Regions from separate parts of the Homo sapiens genome. Here regions 2, 3 and 4 are each linked to region 1. The links are contacts of gene promoters, found by promoter capture Hi-C in blood cells and fetal thymus (Javierre and others, 2016). All regions are on one chromosome and are shown on one strand. Each heading gives the region's core, a stretch centred on a gene start or on the middle of the fragment in contact. The rest is flanking DNA. Distances are from core to core; before and after follow the strand shown.

Region 1 (3,749 bases), core at 928-3,427:
CCATATGCTGAAGATCACAGAGCAGCCAGGAAGGAGCCTGGGTCTCACACCGAAACTGTCACACTAATCCTGGATTGCTTATATTCAGTTTTACATGAAAGAAAAATAATCTTTCATGTTTAAGCCACTCTTATTTTGGGCTTTCTGTCACATGCAACCAAACTTAACATAGTATCTCCATAACAGGAAGTCCCAAGGTTCATTTTCTTCCTAAAGTTACTTAGCTAATACTTCCTTTCTTAAGATTTACATTAACTGTCAGACTCTTTAACTATTTGAAAGAGCCCAATAATTGTTTTGGATATTAAAATTAATAGCATTTACAATCATTAATTGCAGCATTTTATTGTTGCAATAATAAACACTCCTGTTTATTTCCACTGACCATTACAACTGCAACACATAAAACACATAAAGAGGTTTGTCTCTTTGAAAATAACTCTTCAGGTATTAATGATAAGTTCAATTGAGATGACTGGAGTAAATGAATAAAAGAGACTTAAAAGAAAGGCATTATTTACACATTTTGTTGAAATCCATTTAAAGATAACTGCCAATAGAAGTGGGGAGGTCTGCAAGGAATCTAGGAAAGAACTTAAGGTGGCCTAGGTCTGAGCTCACAGGAGAGAAGGCTGCCATTGCAGGCACAGGTTTTGTGGGACAGCAGGAGCCTCAGAATTAGGTGATGATGACCATCAAAACCATTTGATTAACTTTTCTCACTTTGACTCTATATTCACTAAGCTACTTCTGATTATTGTATGGTTTGAGAGAGAAAAAGAGAGAGAAAAGCAGGGTCACCTAAGGGTCTATGAGGTTTTACTAGAGCAGCCAGCTAGCCCCCTTATCTCTCTTCTCAATCAACTCTGTCAGAATTAATAAAACAAATGTGGTTGCTTTTGTTAAAAACACCAGTAAATCAATATTTGCTTTTAAATACTTAATAAAAAAATTATTAAAAGTCAGTTCTCTATCTCCCTAATACAACCAAAGAATCATTTCATTAGTAAATATTTTGACGTACACTTAATGATTTGACTACTATGATTTTAAAATATAAAGATACCAATAATTAAGCAATGGGAAGGATGTGCTAATGATATGACCTTGTAAGACAGCACTCCAGCCTAGTTCTTCATTGATCAGCGCCTGGGTTAGTGGCTTCCAGCTTCAAATGCACAGCCGTATCCTATGCTTTAAAAAATTCTGATTGGCTTCACTCAAGACTAGTTACATCAGAATCTCTGGGATAGGACACAGAAATCAGTATACACACACACACACACACACACACACACACACACACACACACAGACACAAACACACACACACACACACGTGTATATGTATATACTCCCTAAGTGATTCCAAAGCTCAGTCAAGACTGAGAACCACCGATCTGGATTTTGAGGATATTTGAGGTTACAGTCCTGTTTTAAATGGAAAGTTTCATTTGTTTGTGTTTGCTTCTGTGGACTTCTGCAATTATTTTTGTTTTGCTTTCGTTTAAGAGTTGTCATTGCAACGAAGACTCCCTCACACGGGAAGCAGAAGCAAAAAGTGTTAAAAGTTTCGTTCTTTTTTCTCTGTAAGCCAGAGCATATCTAAAGACAGATTGTAACACTGGCACATGTCAAAGAAAGACTCAGAGATAGATTCACTTAGAAAAGGGGTTTACTTGCAAAAGATGCGAGGAGTTAGACGGAAGGACTAGTTTGCCAACCAGTACTTAAAGGGAAAAAAAAATCCCCTAAAATTACCAGGATTACCGGTTGACAGTAGTCTGTTCATGGTGGAAAAACAGTAACTTTCTCACATGGTTATTATACTCACAAAGGTCAGACAAATTAATGTCACAAAGGTCAGAGATTAGCAAGGTAAATATTAGGGATTAAACTGTTTAAGGGAGTCCAGGGAAATATTCAAGGTTTTATTGTTTTGGAGATCAGAAAATCAGGATGATCCTGCAGTTTTTGGGTTATCTCCTTTTAAGCTTAGTCATATTGGAAGCAGGCAGAAGGCTCAGATATTGCTTTTACATACCCTCAAGCCACCAAGCTGGTTCCATCCTGAGAAGGAAGTCACGAAGCTGACTTCTGCGCGCGCTCAAGCCCAGGCTAAAGGGGGCGGGGCGAGGCCGCGGGGGCTTGTGGGGAAGCGCAGGAGGCGGGGCTTTGCGTGAGTCACTGCCGGGCTCGGCGTGAGTCGCTGCGGGGCTGACGGGGTGGCAGTGCGGCGGGTTACGGCCTGGTCAGGTGAGCGGGCGTTGCGGTTCTCGCTGCCCGGAGCAGCGTAGGAGATCCTTGGGGTGGCCGGTGGGAGGAGGGGTAGCGGTTATGGGTACCGGTGAGGCGGGGCGGGCCGGGGCTGGCGGTGGAGGCGCGCGTTGAGGCGGCGCGTCGGTGTCCAGGGCAGCGGCGTCTCGGGTCGCGCGTTCCCGGAGGGGCTCGCCCCCGCAACCCGGGCCTGCGCGCTCTGCTTTGCAGGCGGACCCTCCACCCTGCTGCGATTTTGCAGTGCTCGGGAAGGCAGAGCCGCCCTCCCGCAAAGACCGAGGTGGGGCCCGCCCCCTTGCGGCGTGGGTGTGCGGTGTTCGCCGGGACAGCGGGTGTGAAAGTGATACCCCCAGCGCTGGAAGTTTTTGATTGCTGGCTCGCACCCCCGCCCCATCGCAGGGTCCCTGGGAGAGTTTTTGGGCCTGCTCGAGCAGCAGCGGTGATGGGTGAAATGGAAAAGCATCTAACCCCCGTCAGCATCTCACTGACTTGTTGCGCTTTTATTCATTTATTTGAGTTCCCAACAAAGCGTTGTACTAGTTTTGTTTTTGAATGAGTTGTGCATATATGGTCAAACATGGACACTGCCTGAAAGAAGCTTAAACCTAATTTAGTTGTTGAGGCTACGAGTCAGAAGACCTATCTGCATCTGCAACTGTCCCTTCTTAGTGAGGTATTTTTCACTGTCCTAAACAAATGTTTTTCTAATTCCGTCTCTCTCCCTCCCACCTTACTTCTCTTCCCTCCGCCTAAAGCTTTGACTCTTCTCCTACCTTTTTGGAGATTTTGCCCCATCACTCATCCTTTTTCCTGTATCTTTTACTTTGTTGCTTTTTCCCCAGACTATGCTCAAGAACAAGTCTTATATTATCAAAGGCAAATGTACTGTAATCTCCATATAATCTCATTTACGTAACTCATTTCATTCCCCCCCCTCCTTTTTTTTTGGTCCCAGGCTGGAGTGTAGTGGGCCCGTCACCGCCCACTGTGGCCTCGATCTCCCGATCCTCCCACCTCAGCCTCCTGAGTAGCTGGAACTATAGGCACCCTCCACCACGCCTGGCTAATTTTTGTGTTTTTAGTAGAGATGGGGATCTCGAAGTGTTGCCCAGGCTGATCTAGGAACTCCTGAGCCCAAGCTATTCCCCCTGCCCCCCAACCTCTGCCTCCCAAAGTGCCGGGATTACAGGCATGAGCCACCTGCGGTTGGCCTTCCACCCTTTAAAAAAAATCTTATTGAAACTCTAAATAGAGGTCAGGCGCGGTGGCTCATGCCTATAATCCCAGCACTTTGGGAGGCCGAGGTGGGCGGATCACTTGAGGTCAGGAGTTCGAGACCAGCCTGGCCAACGTGGTGAAACCCCGTCTCTACTAAAAAAAAAAAAAATACAAAAATTAGCCGGGCGTGGTGGCCTGCACCTGTAATCCCAGCTGCTCGGGAGGCTGAGGCAGGAGAATCACTTGAACCTAGGA
Region 2 (3,749 bases), core at 850-3,349, 490 kb before region 1:
ACTTCCTATGTGCACATCCTGGCCACCATCCTCAGCAAAGCCTCCTCCTCAGGTCGGGGGAAGACTTTCTCTACTTGTGCCTCTCACCTGACTGTGGTCATCTTTCTCTACACTTCAGCTATGTTCTCTTACATGAACCCCCACAGCACACATGGGCCTGACAAAGACAAACCTTTCTCCCTCCTGTACACCATCATTACCCCCATGTGCAACCCCATCATTTATAGTTTCCGCAACAAGGAAATTAAGGAGGCCATGGTGAGGGCACTTGGAAGAACCAGGCTGGCCCAGCCACAGTCTGTCTAGCAGGAAGGCCCTGAAAGGAAAGCTCCTTCACCTGGGGAATGGGAGAGTTACCCCATCCCCAGCCCTGGCAGATGAGTAACTCTCCTATGCTGAAAGGCTCCAGGAAAGAGCGTTCATGGCTTCCTTGGCACTAGAATCAGACCTGAAAGTTCCTCCTGATGTCCAATGTCCTGATGTTATCTCTCTGACTTCACTTCCACATTGTTTTTTCTTGGACCTTCCTCGGGAGAATTTCGGATTTTCCTTAGTTTTTTTCCTCAGTTTCTTTTCCTCTTAAGTTCTCACAACAGGATTCAATAAATAAGTGCACTTAACTCCATTTTATTTGTATATACCTTTACATGCTAGTCCCCCAACCTGAGTTTCGTACATACATTTAGAAATAAACTCTTTTATTTTTCAGCTCTTCATTTTACTGTTTTTCTTTCTCAAATTCCACTCTCACTTCCTGGGTCTACCCTCATCTACCCAATTCCTGTGAAAAGTAGGTAAAGAAGCAAGAAAAAAAGGGCTGGGCGCAGTGGCTCATGACTGTAATCTCAGCACTTTGGGAGGCTGAGGATGGAGTTTGAGACCTGCCTGGGCAACATAGGGAGACCCATCTCTACAAAAAATTTAAAAAATGAACTGGGTGTGGTGGCACATGCCTGTAGTCCCAGCTACTGAGGAGGCTGAGGTGGGAGGATTGCTTGAGCCTGGGAGGTTAAGGCTGCACGAGCAATGATAGCACTGCTGCACTCCAGCCTGAGCAACGCAGCAAGACCTTGTCTCATTAAAAAAAAAAAAAATGAAGAAGAAGAAGGAAGGAAGGAAGGGAGGGAAGGAGGGAGGGAGGGAAGGGAAGGGAAGAAAGAGGGAACTAGGGGTAAGTACTCACATAAGAAAAGTCAGTTAAAGAAAAAAAAAAGATCAGCACCCTGAACTTCATCTTCTTAGCTTCCACCAGTCATGGGGGGAGAATGATACTAAATGTCAACAGTGCACTCAATTTGTCTGTGTTGTGTGTTGTCGGGGACGGATGGGTGATAGAGGCCAGTGTGCCAAACCCCTTCTCCTAAATCCTCTAGCTTCCTTTAGCAACAGGACCGTCTGCATGATATTTCCCTTCCCATGCAAGTGGCAAGTGCCTCTACCAAGCTTCTCAGGTTACCTATTTCCTTCCCTGTTATCCATACCCCAAATTAACTCCCCTCTCCCCCTACTGCCTTCCTTTTTCTCTTCCATCTTTCATTTCATTCCACCTCAATCCTACTCCACCTTACCTCCTCATCTTACATGGATCCCTGTATTTTAAGGAACCCTTCTGCATACTACCTCTACCATTGCAGAAGTCTTTCAATTTGTAACCCTGCCCTCTGTGGCTTCCTCTAGCTTCTCACCTTAACCAAACACAGCTTTCTTTGAGAAGGTACTACATCCTCAGCAGTTCTCTTTCTTTGAAAATTGCATTTTTCTCATACCCCTTCATAATAAAACAAGGGGGTAGGCCTGTTCTTTATTTCGCAGTGCACTTCCATAATATGAATGGACCTCATTTGGGATGCTCTCAAATAGATGTACTGCCCTTTCCACTCCTGCGCATCACACACTACCCTTTGCAATGATGACTTAAAACAGTAGCTTCTGGCAGCACGTGGTGGCTCACACCTGTGATTCCAGCACTGTGGGAGGCCAAGGTGGGCAGATTACTTGAGGCCAGGAGCTCAAGACCAGCTTGGTCAACATGGTGAAACCCCGTCTCTAATAAAAATACAAAAATTAGCTGGGCGTGGTAGCGCATGCTTGTAATTCTAGCTACTTGAGAGGCTGAGGCAGGAGGATCACTTGAACCCAGGAGGCAGAGGCTGCAGTGAGCCATAATTACACCACTGCACTCCAGCCTGGGTGACAGAGTGAGACTCTATCTCAGGCAAAACAAAACAAAACAAAACAAAACAAAAACAGTAGCTTCACTCCACAAAACTCCAATCTTTTGAGTCCAAATTGATTTCTCCAGAAATCAGAGGATGTGAGAAGCTCTTCTTAACAAGGAGAAAGGAGAAACCACTGTAATTGGGAAGAAACGATAAATGCAGAACCTAAAATTTCCATTGTCAAAATTTGCATCAAAGTTAAACAGGCAAGAAAGACCTTAAGACTATTGCAATACGAGATTAAACTCAACACTACTCAAACAAGGGTCTGGGAAGTTTTTAAGAGCTGCTGTACGGGAAATCACATGACATCTGTGTTTGCTAACTGCAAAGGAAAAGGACACTTTCTTGTATCTTCAAAACAAGCTGTAGTTTTACAATTCCAAACAAGGCACCCACAGGAGGTTAGGCTCCCACCCTCCCACAGAGACTGAGAGATAGGGGTGCTATCTTCCTTGATGATTACATTTCAAAGGGATGGCTCACAGGTCCTTGAGAAAGACATTCCCTAGGTCGTAAAACTGGCATAAGCTTCTAAGGAGATTTATACACATTTCAAAGGAGCAGAGAAGAATTTTGCAATCACAAGTTTTCTAAAGTAAACACTCAAAGAAAGGGGAGGTCAGGGCCCTAACATCCAGAAGAAACCTGTCTAAAGTTGTCAGGCTGAGGTGAATGTTAAGGCTCTTTTGGTCACCACTGAGAACAACAACAAAAAGGTCCCAATCTTTCCCCCTAGGGTCTCAGCTTCTTCTCTAGGTTTGAAAATTCCTATCTCAAAGAGGAAAAAGTGAAGGAAAGGAAGAAAGGGAAAGGAGAAGAAAGACTGCTTTTAAAAAGTTTTCTAAGAAATCATTTCTTAGCTTTACATTTGCCCAGCACTGACAGACGCTGAGATTATAAACAAGACAGTTCCAGCTTTTGAGAATCTCAGTCTAGTAGGGCAGGCAAGAACAAATAATGGTAATAGAAAGGGCAAGCGTTATAAAAGGCCTACACAAAGTACTTTGGAAGCACATATGATAACATACTTATTAAGCACTTATATTGTAAGAGCTTTCCATTTAATCGTCACATAACCTTATGAGGTACTAGTATTATCTCAATGTTGAGATGCAAAAACTGAGGCTCATAGAGGTCAAATACTCAAAATCCACAGCATTTACAATGGCATAGAGGCCTGCGCCTATAATCCCATACACTCAGGAGGCTGAGGCGGGAGGATTGCTTGACCCCAGCCTGCAGTAAGCTATGATCCCGCCACTGCACTCTAGCCTGGGCGACACAGCGAGATCCCATCTCTAAAAAAAAAAAATTAAACTAAAGAAAAATAATAGAACAGCATAGCTCCTGTTCCTAAGCCTGCACTCCTAAGAAGGTCCAGGACAGCGCAGGCTTTATACCAAGGAGGTGATACTGGCTGCGCCGTTAAAAATACGCTGGAGTTGTAACGTAGAAAATTGGGGCGGGGGTTCGATACCGGGGACGAGTGAAATTCCAGGCAAGAGGAATCGCCCGCTTCGTCGTAGA
Region 3 (3,749 bases), core at 446-2,945, 490 kb after region 1:
GCCTGAGCTTTTAATCTCAGCTATAAATACTTGTTTAAATTAAGAAGAAAAAAAATCATATTATCTAGAAAGAAATATTTGCATGTAGCTTTCCTTGTTATTCTCTGTTGAAAAACAAAACAATATTTTGTGCACAGCTTTAAATTTTTCCATGAGAAAACAAAGCAGGTGTGAAATAACTTAGTTCGATTTTCATCACTCTGTTAGCTAGTCTTCTTAAAAGCCGATGGAAAACCCAGTGCTGCACTAAAGCTATATTTGTGTTTCAAATGTTTAGGCTTATGCTGACTACTCTAGATTCCAACCAGTGGCTGAATTAAAAGTTCCCATGGATGAAAAACAAGGGCGATTGGAGAGCTAATAATGACGAGTGCTTTCAACTGATGAACAGGTTGGATTGTGACAATTCTGCTCCAGGACTAGCTACAAAAGTCCATTTACTCAGTAACAGGAATCTAGGGTTGAGTCAGCAGGCCTGGATTTCTTCCACCTCTAATGCTTACTTTATCTTTGTGCTACTTAGTTTTTTACTTCTTAAATGGGGGAAATAGCACCTATGCTCCTCTGAAGGGATTACCCAAAAGAGTTTTAAAAATGGACATTATTTTATTATTGTTGCTATCATTATTGTTACCATTTTTGTAGTATTTAAATTCTATGTGTAATAGTGTTTCTATGGAAAAAGAAACTTTTTTATTTTTGTTTTTTGAGATAGAGTCTCACTCTGTTGCCCAGGCTGGAGTGCAGTGGTGCAATCTTGGCTCGCTACATCCCCTGTCTCATGGGCTAAAGTGATTCTCCTGCCTCAGTCTCCGGAATAGCTGGGATCACAGGCATTTGCCACCATGCCCAGATAATTGTTCTATTTTTAGTAGAGGCGGAGTTTCACCGTGTTGGCCAGGCTGGTCTCGAACTCCTGACCTCAGGTGATCCACCCACCTAGGCCTCCCAAAGTGCTGGGATTACAGGCCTGAGTCACCTTTTTCCACAGGCGGCCGATCTATGGAAAACATTTTTTGAATTTAAAAATGAGAGCAAGTCTCAGCCAGGTAGAGTGGCTCACACCTGAAATCCCAACACTTTGGGAGGCCAAGGAGGGACGATTGCTTGAGACCAGGAGTTCAAGCCCACCCTGGGCAATAAAGCTACACCTCTGTCTCTAAAAAAAAAAAAAAAAAAGAAAAAAAATTAAAAATGATCAGGATGTGGTGGCGCATGTCTGTAGTCCCAGCTACTCAGGAGGAGGCTGAGGTGGAAGGATACCTTGCACCCAGGAGTTTGTGGCTGCAGTGAGTCGTGATGGCACCACTGCGCTCCAGCCTGGATGACAGAGCAAGACACTGTCTCTGCCTTGGCTTTTACTCACACTATGTTGTAGAGGATTCTGGAAACTTGAGTTCCCACTGCTTTGCCTGTTGGCAGTGCAACTGAGGACTTGCCAGTTTCAAGCTCTACGGCTTGGAGCGGAAGAAAGGACAAGCAAGGTCCAGGGACTAAGGAAGCTGAGGAACAAGAATCTTGTGCTGGTGAAATGAATGTCATACTGCCTATGCACACCGACTAACTTCTCACATTAGGCCTTTCCCCAGGCCATGGTTTTCCCCACTTCAGTGCCAACAACGGACCTAGGGGTTTTTCTCCCTGCTGCCGTGTCCAGCCGAGCTCTCGCTTCTCTCTTCTCCTCCAGCTCCAAAAATAAGTCAACAGCTCTGCACTGCCTACCTTAGAGTTAATTGTGGAAATCAAATGAAATGCTGTGTAAACTCTACAGATGTTCGCTGCTATTGTTATTCTGAGCCACCTTAGCATATCTGGAAAGTGGGCTTAGTGGTTAAGGGAGATTTCCAGTTAAATGAAGCATTTAACTTATTATTTAGCAACATTAATTATTTAGTGGCATTATTTAGCATACCCTCCAAAAAGTATTTACATGTTTTACCAGTTTATCTCTTTATTCTTCTTAAGAACTCTAAGAAGGGCGCGGTAGCTCATGCCTGTAATCCCAACACTTTGGGAGGCCAAGACGGTCGGATCACCTGAGGTCTGGAGTTCAAGATCAGCCTGGCCAACATGGTGAAACCCTGTCTCTAGTAAAAATATAAAAATTAGCTGGGAGTGGTGTCGCGTGCCTGTAATCCCAGCTACTTGGGAGGCTGAGGCACAAGAATTGCTTGAACTTGGGAGGCGGAGGTTGCGGTGAGCAGAGATAGCACCACTGCACTCCAGCCTGAGCAGCAGAGTGAGACTCCATCACAAAAAAACAAAAACAAAAACAACCTAAGAAATTATTTTCTTTCTTTCTTTCCTTTTCTTTTCTCTCTTTCTCTTTCTTCTTTCTTTCTTTCTTTCTTTCTTTCTTTCTTTCTTTCTTTCTTTCTCTTTCTTTCTTTTTCTTTCTTTCTTTCTTTCTTTTTTTTTCTTCTTTCTCTGTCTCTCTCTCTCTCTCTGTTTCTTTCTTGTCTCACTCTGTTGCCCAAGTTGGAATTCAGTGGCGAAATCATGGCTCACTGCAGCAACTCTGCAGGCTCAATCAATCCTCCCACTTCAGCCTCCCTAGTAGCTGGGACTACAGGCCTGTGCCACCATGCCTGGCTAATTTTTATAGTTTTTTTTAGAGACAGGGTTTCATCATGTTGTCCAGGCTGGTCTTGAACTTAGACTCAAATAATCCACCTGCCTCAGCCTTCCAAAGTGCTTGGATTACGGGTGTGGGCCACCGCACCTGGACTACATATTCTAATTTTCTCCATTTTATACTTTTAAAAATTAAGGCTAAAAGATTGAGTAATCTGCCCAAGGTCATCCATTTTATAAGAAGTAGTGCTGGAAGTAAAACCTGATGCCAAGCCTTTGTGGTCAACCACAACATACAAGATTGCAGACAACAGATGCCTCACGTCCCTTCTCCAGTTCACAACTAAATTGGCTGTTTTCTTTCACTGTCCATTTTAATAAATTTACAAGTTTATCAATCACTAATATTTTTGTTATTGCCAAGCACCAGTTGTCTCTTTAGTGTTACATGGGGTGGGCTGAAGGAGGCTAGGGTGCTGATTCCTGTCTACAGTAAGTGCCCAAAAAATGATGGTCTCAAGAAAGGCTGGTCAGAAATGCCAACTTAAAGTTTCAGATAAAATGGAAAAACTGAAAAGTACTTACTCATTAAAGTAACTGGTGATTTTTAAGCATCTCTCTCAGTTGATTCTAGATCTCGTCCCTAGATAGCTTTCTTCCTCTCCTGTAGATCATTGTGACCAGACGGGAGATCTCAGAGCTTGGGCTATAGGGGAAATAGGTTAGCCTCTGGGTGCTGCTGTGCTTGCAAGCCAGCGTCTGGGGAGAAGATGACATTTCCGGTGGCATCTGGGGCAAACGACACAAGTCAGCATTTAGTTTCTTGCTTTAGGAAGCGGAAGACTAATGACCGAAGCTTCAAGACTTTGACATGTGTGAAAACATGAAATGGTAAGTCAATACAAAGACAGCATCTTCCTGGAATTTGGTTTTGAGCTTGTTTTCATTTCACCTTTCTCAGTAATCTGGGTGTAGCTTATTTTGACTCTTCCTTTGATTAAACAATTCAGACCCTTGGCTCTTATTGTTCTTGCTGGTGTGGTATGTTCACGGCTGAAAAGATGGTCAGAAGGGGAAAGGAGGAAGTGAGAAGAAAGAAACAGGGAAATGGTAAGAAGAACTCTACTTTTCTAAATAATATTTAATAGTAGTAATCTTGTGTTTCTGTGCAAGGT
Region 4 (3,749 bases), core at 368-2,867, 400 kb before region 1:
CTTAGTCCCACAAGACTATAAACTTCATGAGAGCAGACAATGTACCTGTTTTGTTTACTACTTTATTCCCAGTGCCAAGTACAGTACTTGACATAGTATGTGCTCAACACATTCTCTTGGAAGGAAGTCAAAGAAGGAGGAAGAGTAGGAGGGAAGGAGGAAGGGAAGAGGAAAGGATGAGGAAGGAAGCAGGGAGGTAGGCAGAAGAGGAGGAATGGAGGCCTTATTGGTGCTGGGAAAATATTAGATTTCCTTTCTCTAGTAGGAAAGCTGAAAGGGTTAAGAGTGGCCACTTAACTGAGCCACACAGACCCCAGGATTTAAAGGCAGAAGTTGAACATCAGAATTTTGTCCATGAGACAATGCTGAGTTCAAACCACAGAAGCAGGTCCAAATGAGTCATCAGAGCAAAGGGAGTCTGAGGTGAGTTTTAGGTACACCAGAGCAAAAGGAGAATGAAAAAAGCAGGAAAGATGAGGGCAAATAAGAAATAATCTGTACAAATTCAATAAACAATAGGAAAAAACCATCAGCTGGGTTTATTTCTTGCTGCTTTCTATGCAGGGGCAAAGGAAGTCTGATTAAAGGGATGTAGACCACAAACAGTTGCAAAAGGAAGAAAAGAAAAAAGGAAAGAAAAGAAAAAGAAAGGAAGGAAGAAAGAAGGAAGGGAGGGAGGGAGGAAGGAAGGAAGGAAGGAAAAGAAAAGCTGGCTCTGAGCAGTCAGCTGGCTGTTCTCTTCCCTACATCTCTATGGCATCTTATTTTGAACCAAAGTTATTTTGAACCCTACATTTCTATGGCATCTTATTTTGAACCAATTCAACATTTTGAACCAAAATTATTAAGTTCTTAACTTACACATTGTTCCATATTATCTCCCGTCCTTAATCATAAGCTCCTAGGGAACAGGGAAAGTGTCTATTTCATTTTCTCATTTCCTACAGAGTCTAGCCCAATGATTTCAAATAGTGAGTGCTCAAAAATATGGCTAAATACTGATATATATTTCATAAGTGCTAGGAGTTGTTACTTTAATGAAATTATCAACTTTCTGAGGAAAACCTTTTAGTCCTGAGTTCCTTCTGAAAATATAAGAGAGTTGGGGTAAATAATCGCTAAGGCATTTCCAAAGTGTAAGCTATTGGGGCAATGGCAAGGATATGCCTTATACATATGTTTTATAATCTATCATTTCCAGTATATTATTGGGCAAATAGCGGGAACTCAATAAAGGTTTCCAGTGAATTGACTCCAATATAGATGTATTTAAGTTAAGACGAAATACATAGATGTGTTTCTGAAGCTTCATATAAATTGCCTGTGAATTGAACATTTAAAAATACATGAGAAATCTATTATTAAATGGTTTCCTAAGATGAAAATTTTTTACAATATTTAGAATCATTTTGTAAAATAATAACTCATTTAGTCAACTTTCTTAAGTTTCACATATTTATATATCAAGGATGCTGACAATAGGATAAACCAGATTAGTAGTTTACAGTTATGAGCCAATTGATTTAATATTGACCAAATTAAGTTATTCTGCATAGAGATGTGTCTGTTTCCCTACAATTTCCCAGATGATCCATCCCCACCTCTCTCCCTTCTTCCTTTCCCTCCCCATCCCTCTTTCTCTTTCTCTCTCTCTTTCTCTCTCTCTCTGTTTCACACACACACAGACTTTCCCCCTTGGGTCTTATATTTCAGCTTTAGTAGGTCTACGCTGATTTATAATACTATGCATACAACTTTCACTTTCCCATATTCCTTTGAACATTTCTCACTGTTGACCCACATGCCTCACCAGTTTTGAAAACAGGTATGCTTCCCACGGTGTCTGGATCATCCATAGTATCTAGACTCTTCAAGATGTCTGTCTTTGGTGGTGGCTTTGGTATGAGCATGCTGGAAGTAGAAGCTTCCCCAGCTGAGAAACAATAGCTTTAGGTCACCCTCAAGGTGGGATTCTGGGAAGGGAGTGTTCCTTACTCCCTTTCATTTTCCCTATGACTCTGAGCTGTCCAGGGCTTTCTTTCCAAAAATCCAGTGAAAAATTAGAGACGCGATGTACCTCAAAAAGATTCTATTCCCTTGACATACATGGGGGAAAGCAGAACATATAACTAGATACTTTGAGGTGGGGTGGATGAGAAGGCCATTTTTCCTTAGGGCTTGATTTATCTGATAGTTTTGGAGTGTCAGTTATAATGACAATAAAGATTCCCACAGATGAGCCCAGACTGGTCGAAGTAATTCACATAACAACACAATAATGACAAGCTCATGGGATAAATTTTGTTCCCCCCTCAACTCTCAAGTCCTCCTTATCTGCCTGGCATCTATCACAACAAACCAGGTCAAAATCTTACCTGGAAAATACACGACTCAGTGATCAATATTTTATCAAAGTGAGAATGTGATAAACAAGGTCAGTTGACCCCTAAAATCCGTATTTACACTAGAAAGCCTCACATCCTGTATTTAGACTTCTTGTGAGAGAACCCATTCTCTGTCACTGGAGTATGATCAGGAGACAAGGGTACCTGTTCTCTGAGGAGTCCTGACTAACTGGCGAGACTGAATCACACACATGAAAAATTTCAGATGAAACTCGTCTTTATGCATGGCTGCCTCCTAGAAATAGAGACAGAGTTTAATCCAAACGAACAGAGCTGTGAAATAAGATGTCAGTGACTGACATGGACCAGCTACACTCATGACTACTTGGCCTTAGGACTTGACAATATAATATAAAAGTATCAGCACATGAGGCAATACAAATAATCTACTTTGATGTATTTGACAGGGGAGGAAACCCTGAACTCAGCAAGCTGCTGAGAGTATCAGAAAGGCTGGGGGCCTCCAGAAACTGCCCTTCTTTAAGTCTGAGCTCAGACTGTGCCTGTGGCTGTGATCTGGGTGTAAAGGACCTATTAAGGGGGCATTTCTCTAAGACTTCTACAGGGCCTGGGTCCAGAGGCCTGCCAAGCTGAGGTGCTTGACAAAAAGCCTGAATGAACAAACATATTTCTTCCCATTATGTTCTCTTAGAAAGTATGGCAGATTCCAGGTTAATCAATGTGTCCCAGGAACAACAAAGCCCTTCAAAGGTCACAGGTGATTCCTGGGTCCTTCTCTATCTCTACCCAGAAAAGCAGATCTCTAGTGGGCTCCCAAAAGCTTTCCTCACAGCTCTGCCTGTTTCAAATTCCTCCAGAGTTCTGGAAGGTTCTACATCTTGCCAGAGTCTAGCCTAATCCGTCCTCAAGTTGCTTGTTTGTTTGTTTGTTTGCTTGCTGAATGGTCAATCAAGTATGAGGTGGTGCAGAGTACAGGATTGCAAGTTAAGAAACTTGTTTCCTAGTCCTAGATGGGCCGTGCACTTAAAACCTTTGGGAAATCACTTCACTTCTCTGAACCTGGTAAGACTAAAGTATCTCCAATAACCTCTACAAGCACTAACGTTCTGTGATTCTCAATAAAACACGAGATAGCCTGAGATCGATTTAGATCTCAGGTCCCTATCTGTCGGGGGAAGCCACAGGTTTCCGCAGATTTAGGGCCACCGCGAAAAGCTGCCATGGAAACTGGAACGCAAGCAAGCAAAACTCGCCGGGCGGAACCAGAAGGCGGCGGGTAAGGGAGCAGAGGGAACAGAGAAAAGCATAGGACGAAGGGCTCACTAACAGTATTCCGAGTACGAGAAAGCGAAAAAGCCCAGACTGAAAAGGGTACTGAGAAAT

Evidence for each region. Contacts are between HindIII fragments. The CHiCAGO score rates a contact against its expected background, and 5 or more counts as called.
Region 2: a contact is called between a fragment that was not itself captured here and the fragment with the promoter of RPAP3 in region 1, in 1 of 17 cell types (fetal thymus). The highest score is 12.9, in fetal thymus.
Region 3: a contact is called between a fragment that was not itself captured here and the fragment with the promoter of RPAP3 in region 1, in 2 of 17 cell types (naive CD4 T cells and naive CD8 T cells). The highest score is 6.0, in naive CD4 T cells.
Region 4: a fragment that was not itself captured here is called in contact with the fragment with the promoter of RPAP3 in region 1 in 1 of 17 cell types (fetal thymus); the score reaches 6.9 in fetal thymus.

Annotation. Positions count from the first base shown.
Region 1 is chr12:47,704,458-47,708,206 of GRCh38, reverse strand. It overlaps RPAP3 (RNA polymerase II associated protein 3), which reads left to right and starts at 2,177. Exons shown (of 17, transcript NM_024604.3): 1 at 2,177-2,255. It overlaps RPAP3-DT (RPAP3 divergent transcript), which reads right to left and starts at 2,119. Exons shown (of 4, transcript NR_183480.1): 1 at 2,044-2,119. RefSeq lists enhancers at 1,866-2,015, 1,947-2,241, 1,962-2,461, 2,462-2,963 and silencers at 2,156-2,235, 2,306-2,595, 2,626-2,715. The HindIII fragment of the contact is 881 bases long and covers 1,996-2,876 here.
Region 2 is chr12:48,198,896-48,202,644 of GRCh38, reverse strand. The region is part of intron 1 of LOC102725258 (a long non-coding RNA gene); the gene reads right to left. OR10AD1 (olfactory receptor family 10 subfamily AD member 1) reads left to right here. Exons shown (of 1, transcript NM_001004134.1): 1 at 1-306. The coding sequence ends at 306. Among named protein-coding and RNA genes, the nearest start is that of OR10AD1, 2.5 kb to the left of the region's middle. The HindIII fragment of the contact is 1,307 bases long and covers 1,446-2,752 here.
Region 3 is chr12:47,216,100-47,219,848 of GRCh38, reverse strand. It overlaps PCED1B (PC-esterase domain containing 1B), which reads right to left. Exons shown (of 4, transcript NM_138371.3): 3 at 3,160-3,627. It overlaps PCED1B-AS1 (PCED1B antisense RNA 1), which reads left to right and starts at 3,406. Exons shown (of 3, transcript NR_026544.1): 1 at 3,406-3,465; 2 at 3,585-3,684. The HindIII fragment of the contact is 3,475 bases long and covers 1-3,432 here.
Region 4 is chr12:48,106,256-48,110,004 of GRCh38, reverse strand. It overlaps a transcript of PFKM not described here. Among named protein-coding and RNA genes, the nearest start is that of SENP1, 2.1 kb to the right of the region's middle. RefSeq lists an enhancer at 3,180-3,749. The HindIII fragment of the contact is 618 bases long and covers 1,309-1,926 here.